3 separate regions of the Homo sapiens genome follow, and regions 2 and 3 are each linked to region 1. The links are contacts of gene promoters, found by promoter capture Hi-C in human tissues and cell types (Jung and others, 2019). All regions are on one chromosome and are shown on one strand. The core of a region is centred on a gene start or on the middle of the fragment in contact, and the rest is flanking DNA. Distances in the headings are between cores, read along the strand shown.

The links. Contacts are between HindIII fragments. The study calls those that stand out against the background at their distance.
Region 2: a contact is called between a fragment that was not itself captured here and the fragment with the promoter of SLC25A15 in region 1, in 1 of the 25 tissues and cell types used here (spleen).
Region 3: a fragment that was not itself captured here is called in contact with the fragment with the promoter of SLC25A15 in region 1 in 1 of the 25 tissues and cell types used here (dorsolateral prefrontal cortex).

The regions. Positions count from the first base shown.
Region 1 is chr13:40,787,970-40,791,069 of GRCh38, forward strand. It overlaps SLC25A15 (solute carrier family 25 member 15), which reads left to right and starts at 1,642. Exons shown (of 7, transcript NM_014252.4): 1 at 1,642-1,694. RefSeq lists silencers at 1,212-1,791, 2,924-3,100. The HindIII fragment of the contact is 20,114 bases long and covers 1-3,100 here.
Region 2 is chr13:39,724,947-39,728,046 of GRCh38, forward strand. It overlaps COG6 (component of oligomeric golgi complex 6), which reads left to right. Exons shown (of 19, transcript NM_020751.3): 18 at 2,523-2,602. Among named protein-coding and RNA genes, the nearest start is that of MIR4305, 62 kb to the left of the region's middle. The HindIII fragment of the contact is 4,349 bases long and covers 1-3,100 here.
Region 3 is chr13:39,753,177-39,756,276 of GRCh38, forward strand. It overlaps a transcript of COG6 not described here. Among named protein-coding and RNA genes, the nearest start is that of MIR4305, 91 kb to the left of the region's middle. The HindIII fragment of the contact is 5,651 bases long and covers 1-3,100 here.

The DNA of each region.
Region 1 (3,100 bases), core at 392-2,891:
CCCAACTCCCTGGCTTGTTTTTGTAACTCGATTACAGTCCAGAAGCCCAAGTTCTAAAGTGCTGATTCTGATGAGTGTCCATGTACCAGGCACTCTGATCCCATCATAGCATCTACTACAGCCTGGGAGGTCTACTCAAGTGTGCATTCATGTTAAGCACTAACACCAATTAAATCACTTAAATAACGTAGGTAATTATCCAATAGCACATCCAGACGTGGTGGCTCACACGTGTAATCCCAGCACTTTGAGAGGCCGAGGCAGGCAGATCACCTGAGGTCAGGAGTTCGAGACCAGCCCGGCCAAGGTGGTGAAACCCTGTCTCTACTAAAAAATACAAAATTAGCTGGGTGTGGTGGCGCATGCCTGTAATCCCAGCTACTTGGGAAGCTAAGGCAGGAGAATCGCTTGAACCCAGGAGGGGGAGGTTGCAGTGAGCTGAGATTGCACCATTGCACTCCAGCTCGGGTGACAGAGTGAGACTCTGTCTCAAAAAAAAAAAGAAAAAAAAAGAAAAAAATAATAATCCAACAGCACATCTAAACAAGGCTTAAAGTTGTAAAATAAAATTACACTGTGTGGAGGGTGTGTGTGTGTGTGTGTGTGTGTGTGTGTGGGTGAGAGAGAGAGAGAGAGAGAGATGAGGTCTCTGTCATCCAGGCTGGAGTGCAACAGTGCCATCATAGCTCACTGCGGCCTCCAATTCCTGGCCTCAAGCGATCCTCCCGCCTTGGCCTCCCAAATAGCTAAGAATAGAGGCATGTGTCACCACACCTTTTTTTTTTTGTCGTTGTTTGTTTGTTTTTATGAAACGGAGTCTCGCTGTGTAGCCCAGGCTGGAGTGTAGTGATGCAATCTTGGCTCACTGCAACCTTCACCTCCCAGATTCAAGCGATTCTCCTGCCTCAGCCTCCCTAGTAGCTGGGGTTACAGACACGCACCACCACGCTGGATAAATTTTTGTAATTTTAGTACACGGGGTTTCACCATGTTGGCCAGGCTGGTCTTGGACTCCTGACCTCAGGTGATCCGCCTACCTCGGCCTCCCACAGTGCTGGGATTACAGGCGTGAGCCACCATGCCCGGCTAATTCCTGTATTTTCATACTTAGTTGTATTTCCTATTAGGGCCTTGGATCCCGAGTATAATTTTGTACTCAAATATAATTTATAAATAAGGCCTTAGCCTCCCAACAAGGTCAAAGTAGCTAAAAAGTAAGTCCTCCCAACCACTGACATTACCAGCCCCCAGCCCCCAGTCCCAGCCCAGCGGGCTAACAAGGGTCCGGCCTCAGAGAGGGTCTCGGGGATCCCAGAGGTGGGAAAGTCTCCGGAGGCGCAGGCCCCGCTCTCCACCTTCACCAGGGTCGGCGGCAGCACCACGCCGGGTCGCGGGCTGGCTGTGCGCGCCGCGGCCCCACGCCCACTTCCGCTTCCCGTGCTGGGGGCGGTGGCAGGGCCGGTGGGCGGTGGCGGCTCCCGGTCTCGGCTCGGGCACGGCCCTGGGCAGGCCGCCCGCCAGCCGCAGGGGCGCTCCTGAGCTTCGCGGGGCCGCAGTCCGGGATGCCTGCGCGAAGGGAGGGGCGAAGGGCCGGCCGTTGCCGACGTGGGTGTTAAGTGGCCGCCCCAGCCGGCGACCCGGAGCCGAGAGCGGGCGGCGGAGCCTGAGCTGGACGCGGCCACGCCGGCGCGGCGGTGAGCGCAGCCCGGTCTGGCGCCTGCAGCTGCGGGGAGCGCGCCAGGCAGAGGGAGCGGGGAGCGGGGCGCGGGGCGGGCCTCGGTGTGCGGGCGGCGTGACCTTCCCGAGCGGCGGGGGAAGCGGCCAGCGTCGCAGCGCACGTGCCGCGGGACTCGGAGAATCTCGGGGTTGTCGGCCTCCTTCCTGCAGTGCCCACCTGGTGGGAACTTTTGTCCTTGTTTGCCCCCAAGTCCTGTCATTTGGCTGCGGGGCTCCGCGCCTCAGGGGCGCCAGTGCTGGGCAGCATGGAGCCGCTTGTGAATGGAGACTTGCTGGCTGCCCAGGAGTGGGCGGCTGGGCAGGGGCGGTGAACGTTTAGGGTCCGGCCAAGAAAGTTGGAAGTCGTCTCCCTGACCTGTTCCTTGCGAGGCCCGGGAGGAGACGCGCCTGGCCGGTCCTTGGCGGCGAAACTGATTTGCATCTCCACGCTTTACCTAAAGCCCGGGCTCTGGGGACTGGATGGCGAGCTGGCCTGCGGCTCCTTTAGCCAGAAGCTGGGATCTTCCCGCAGCAGTTCGTGTTCCCTGGTGGAAAATGCAGCCTCATCTACTGACTCTCCCTTCCAAAAAAAAGTTATTTTCCCCAAGGGTCGAGAAAAGTGGGTGGTCGGCACTGTTGTTCCTCAGTTGCACCCTGGTGTAATTTGAGAGAGGGGTCAAAGGCGCTGAAAAGATTCTTTTTTCTATTCCAAGTGCTACAGCAAGCTCATAAATCAATTTTAATTCATGCTGAACAGTCTTGCCTCCTCCAAGCCCTGTGTCTTCTCCAAGCCAGAGCTACACATAATGTGAATTAGCTGCCCACTCCTTCTGAGTGAATCTGTTAGTACCCATCATCGTTTTCTATCCTAATAATTCTAATGGCTATTTGTAGAATTTATTTGTTTGTTTATTTTTTTGAGACGGAGTTTCGCTCTTGTTGCCCAGGCTGGAGTGCAATGGGGCGATCTCGGCTCACCGCAACCTCCGCCTCCTGGGTTCAAGCTATTCTCCTCCCTCAGCCTCCCGAGTAGCTGGGATTACAAGCATGGCCCACCACGCCAGGCTAATTTTGTATTTTTAATAGAGACGGGGGTTTCTCATGTTGGTCAGGCTGGTCTCGAACTCCCGACCTCAGGTGATCCGCCCGCCTTGGCCTCCCAAAGTGCTGGGATTACAGGCGTGAGCCACTGTGCCTGGCCTATTTGTAGAATTTAATGTGTTTAAGTTTGGCTCACCTAACAGGGTTTAATTCTTAGGGACAGATAGAATGTAATGTGATGTGACTTTCCTTCAAAATTAAGAAGGAAGTGTCTGTGCCAAAAGAAATAAGCGCATTGAGGTTTATCTAGGAGGCCACATTGTACTTGCCTCTGTCTGTCTGC
Region 2 (3,100 bases), core at 220-2,719, 1.1 Mb before region 1:
AGATTCCACTCTTAAAACAGTTTATTACTCTTTAGTTTGAGACTCACTGAATTTCCACTTTATTACCTTCCTTCTTTTCAGGTGAAGATCTTGTACCTTCCTTTTTGCATGATCACTACTTTTTGTAGTGTGTTTCTGTGTCTTAAATACATATACTTTCCTCATATGTATAGTGTTCATATGCATAGCCATTCATTGTATGATATTTAAGTCATATAGCTCTATCCCTCATAGGAATGATCCCTTTTGGAAGTTTTATGATAGTACTACTAGTAATAGTAATAATAATATGGAAGAACAACAGCCATTAACATTAGCATAGCAAGTGTTTTCCCTGTATTAACTCTTTAATCCTCATGACAACCCCATTCAATCCAGGAAGTTGGCCTACAGAGCTTGTGGGTTTAACTACTGTACTAAACTAGTGATCCTAAGTATTTAAAATACTCACGTATACTCACTACCACAATGGCCTGACTTTCATAGATAGTCCTGTAGGAAGGTTTTTAAATTTTCCAACAATTTTTGATGCCAAGGCTTTCCTATATATTATCTTCCAGAACTCAGTTTAACTGAAAACAAAAGGATAGGCTCATAAGATACCTAACAAATGCAAAGAAGAAGGTGGAGCTATCTATATGATTATTAGATAAAGTAGAATTTAAAAAGACTAAATGAGACAAATAAGAAACATTATGTCGTGATAAAAGACACTATATAGAAGCAACAGTTATAACTTCTATATATGAAACAAAAACATAGTAGCAAAAATTAGAAATGCAAAGAAAATTCGATATTAAAAAGTTTAAATAAAAATAGATGAAAATGAATTTTAGATTCATTAAAAGATATGTTTTTAGAAAGTTATATATACACTTACCATACTATCCAGTACAATTCCACTTCAAGATATTTACCCCCCAAAAATGAAGATCTATGCTCACACTTAGATCTGTAACATTAGTTAGTACCAAATATATGTTCCCTTCCTCTGTTTCTCCTTCTCTCTTGACACATATCCAGTCTGTAATACAACTCATAAAATATTTGAAATGCCATTAAAAATTCTTCATGTTCCTGGTGTTAATTTTCAGAACAATTAAGGTGAATATGAATATACGATGTCTCTGGAGAAACAAATCTTGCTTGAGTTTTGTATTTAATACGTGATTATATACAACCATTTGTTGTCTCCATTTAGGGGTTTCTAAGGCACTTCAATTCAGCATGTCCAAAACTAACTCTGCACATTCCACCCTAAACCTAAGTCCTCTTCCAGGCATTATTAACTCAGAAAATTGTAAGACCTTCTATCCATTTATCATTTAAATAGTTATTAACCGAGTTTCTGCTATTTTCTAGGCATCATGCTAAGAATTGGGATGAAAACAGATATGATCTAGTAAGGGATGCAGCTACTACACAAATAAATGAATGAAGAGTACAGTTATGTGTTATGATAATATGGTGAATTAATTCATACATATCCAAAATCTGGGAGTCCATCCCTTCATTCTATCAGTAACCAAGTCCTGATGGTCCTCAAATATCTTTACGTCTTTCACCTTGATTGCCCCTATAGTCTAAAAATGCTGCAGTAGGTACCTAAGGTACCTAATTGGTGTCTTTGTATCTATTATTGCAATCTTCCATTCTGTCTTCCTATGGCCAGATTTAGCTTCTTAAAACTTAAATCAGATTTCTCCCTTACTTAAATTCAATGGTTTACTAATGCTTTTGAAATAATTAAAATCCTTAAATAAGCATGCCAGTCCTACATGATCTCTACTTATATGTTTTCCTTCCCACCTCAAGTCTTCATGCTGTCTCCTCTCCCTGAACCTCCCCACCCATCAATCCACTTACTTAATGTATATTCATCTTTAAGATTTCACTTCAAATGTCCTTTCCTGAGAGATGCTTTTGCCGAATCCACAGACTAGGTCCTTGATTTATGCTTTATAGTACCTTGTTTTATTCCTTAATAGCATTTAACAAAATTTGTAATTATATATTTATTTATATTATTATCTGTTTAACACCTCTCTTGCTAGGCCATAAGCTCTGTGAAGCTAGGGACTATCCTTTTTTTGCTCATTTTTATACTTCCATTACTTAATATAGTACCTTTTCAATGGTAGGTATTAGTTGAACTAATGAATGCATTAATGAACAAATGAACAAATATAGTAAAATCAAGAAACAGGTAGACCTGAAACCTGATGACTTTACTTCTTGTTAATATTATTACTTAAAAGCTTTGTGAGGAAGACTAAAATGAATGGTTTGGATTCAGGATTTTGAAAGTAAGTATTGCTAATATTGACTATATTACAGATTTGACAGTTTTAGGGAGTTTTAGTTAGAATGTTTAGAAAATACACAATTTGAACACAACAATCTAGTTATTTAGAGTATGGAATTTTTCTCAAGGATTTAATTCTTAAAAGAGATGTTTATATTTGAGTTGTTTGTTAGCACATATATGTACTTTATATTTTGTATTTCTCTGTTTCATTTAGGTTCAGTTTGATCGTTATCTGTCAGCCCCAGACAACCTATTGATACCACAGCTGAACTTTCTTCTAAGTGCCACAGTGAAGTAAGTATTTTTGGTCCCAAGTAGTTGGTAAAGATTCACATATTTTTAAATATCAAGTACATTTTTTTGGAAAAAAATTTATTTTCAAGAATAAATGATTTACCATTGAAAATCTATAGTTCTCAACCTTTCTTCTGCCTTGGCATGCCAAAGGATGAGATCTGAACATGTCTGTACTTATTCCATGTCTATATGTCACTCCAAAATCTCTAATTAGTACATGATTGTTAAAATTACTTTGAATATAATTGAAGCTATATAGCTGTAATACCAAATTCCCTTACGTTAACAAACATGTCAGAATAATGTTGAATATGTTATGGAAAATCAATAATATATTCATTATGCAATGCAGATGAACTGATTTATAGACTATTTTGAATCTAAGGTAGTGTTCTGTAGATATAAAATTACTCAATATCATTTATCAGGAATGTATTCAGGACACCAAATCATACATTAAAATATTAGAATATAACAATTAGAAGAAGCGGAGAG
Region 3 (3,100 bases), core at 435-2,934, 1.0 Mb before region 1:
AGGTGATTAGATTGTCAGGATGAAGTCCTCATTAATGGAATTAGTACCCTTACTCAAGAGGCTCAAGAGATCCCTGTCCCTTCTACCATGTGACGTTACAGTGAGAAGACAGCCATCAGTGAGGAAGTGGGCCCTCACTAGACACCAAATCTTTTGGTGCCTTGATTTTGGGCTTCGAGCCTCCAGAACTGGGAGAAATAAATGTCTGTTGTTTTTATAAGCCAGCTAGTTTATGGTATTTTGGTACAGCAGTCTAAATGAACTAAGACAGACATTCAATATTGCTTTGTAATTCTACTCTTAACTTGCCATGTTTCCAGAGGACTTTTACACCCACATTCTCAGTTAATATCCTTCATAATTCACCAAGAATAGAAACTATTAGATTAATCTTCCTCATTTTCCTATTCTCAAACATCACACCCATCTCCTCTCCTTCCTTGTTTTGTACTTGAGATGTTATCTCTCTTTCTATGACAGGATATTCCCTCCATTATGCTCTGGCTCGCATCTCTCATCTTCTTATTAGATCCTTCTGTCTCTGGGTTATCCCTTCATTTTGCTTCAGCAACAACTGGCCTCTCTGTAGGATTATTCTCAATGTCATAAATAATGTTGTAATGTTCATAGTATTTTTAAAAACTCTCTACTCAGATCCTAACACTTCCATTTCTCTGCTTCCTTTCCTGGTTTAGACATGCTGTCGTCTACTTCCTTATTTCTCATTCTGTCTTTAAAGTATCCCAATATAGTTTCAGTCTCTCACTACTACACCGAAACTAACCTGATAAGCTTTTCATCAGTGCTATATGTTGTCAGATCTAGCAGATTCTTCTGTATCTCTATTTGTTGAACTCTCAGTGTCATTCTACACATTTCTGTTTGAAATTCTATCCTTTCCAGTCTTCCATGGCACCACTTTCTCCTAATTTTCCTCCCATTTCATTAACCCAACCCCCTTTTGACCTTCTTCCCTGGCTCTTTTGCCTCTATATGATTTCTAAAAGTTGGCATACTCTAGGGCTTGATCCTGGATACTTTTTTGTTTTAATCCTTCCTTTAGGGATTTGTTACTTCAACCTTTTCTATCCAGAATAATGTTAGCTTAAATGTCTTTAGATATATCCATATGATGGAGTACAGCAGTGAGAAAATGAATGGTTTTCAAGTACATAATGTTGAGAAAGAAATCAGAATAATATAATACTAATTTTATAGAATGTGGATACATGTAAAGGTGTAAGGAAAATATAGGAAATGATTAATACAATTTAAGATTATGGAGAGGGAAACACAGGATGTGTTGAAGTTACTGATAATGTTTTATTCTTATGCTAGGTTGTTAGTACTCTTAAATATTCTTTAAAATTTTTCATATATGTTACATAAACTTCTGTTCATATATTTTACAATTTTAAAAAATAGTTTAGAAATTTGCTTGGCATAGGGCCTGGGCTAAAGTTAGAACTCAATATATGAGAGCTATTTTTTTTCATTAGTCTTATCATTAAACACATTTCTTAAGTACCTACTAGGTAGTAGGCTTTGTGATAAGCATTTAAAAATATAACCAAATTATGTGTTTCCCGTTGAGGAATTCCCTGTCTTGCACAATGATAGTTACATGTATTGTAAATAAACATCATGAAATTTGGTAGAGTGCTTGTGCATGTTGGCAAGAAGAAAAAATGAACTAATATCATCCTTTATAATTCAGCCGGATGTCCTTGGTATAAGAGGTTGAGAGCACAGAAAACAAAGTTTCAAACCACAACTGTACATTGTTCAGTCTGAGATTATCATAATGATTGGGTTCTATTAACTATTTGGTTAAGATGTAAAATTATGTAATAGTGTGGTGAGAGGAAAAATGGTGGATTAAGGAACTTAAAAATTTTGTCCCTTCATAAAGGTAGCAATAAAACTGGCCTTCAAAAAATGATCAAAGTCAACTTTTTCAGGACTCGAGAAACTAATCAAAAGATCACAGTAACCTGAGTTACTTAAAAAAAGAGAAAAAAAAGCCAAATGTTAGTAATAACAGCAAGCATTTTGGTGTTTAACTTATGCCGTTTCCATACCTTGCTCCCTAGTTCAGCAGTAGTGTTGAAAAGAACACGCCACATTCATGGTATGGGAAAGAGCAGAATGGACCTTATTTGCAGATTATCCTTATTTGATCTGTCTGATAGCTCCCAGGAAAACCCATTTAAAAAACCGGCCTTTATCTTGCCTGTTATGGAACTCACCCTCTACTGGGGTGGGGGTGGGGAATTTATTTAAAACATTTACCTGTCATTGCTACATGAAGCAATGGGTAAAAGTTGGAGCAAACAATAAACTAACCAGAAAGCTTTGGAAGAAAGGTTGGGAATGAGATGTTCATAAGGACTTTGAAAAGCTCTTACGTATTTCTGGGAATCTAGAAGGCTCTGTGCATGTTTAGGACTGTGTGCATGTTCATGAATGAACAGAGAGACCGTAATCTCTCACCTCTGCCTGACCTTGAGGATCTGAGCAAGCAGGGAATGAAGGCAGAAGCAAAGTTAGAAGCTGCCTAGCTGAGTGTCCAAGACATGTCCCAACAGACACACAGAGTCCTTCAGCAAAGACTGAGCAATTTTTTGGTTTAGGCATTCAAGGAACTCTTCATCTAATCATTAGTTGACAATTAAGCTAATGAATCGGACACATAAGTGGTTACACATGACAAAGAATGTAGATTTTACAGAATGAGTTCATGAAAGTCACTAAAATATAATCACAGCTATAAAAGGCAGCAACAACAAACGGGGTGGGGCAAGAGAATCTAATCTGATTTCCAACAGATAGCCCAGATATTGAACTTATTAGACAAAGATTTTAACTATTTTAAATATGTTCAAGGATTTAAGGAAACCAAGTCTGAAGAACTAAAGTATGAGAAGAGTGTCTCACCAAATACAGAATATAATAAAGAGATACAATTATAAAAAGGAAGTTTTTAATACATTTATAATTTTAAAAGTTTAAAGTTACACTTTATAAAAATTATGAAAAACTTATTTGGACATGAGAATTAGTACACAGAATAAATAATACACTATAGGGGATAAAAGCA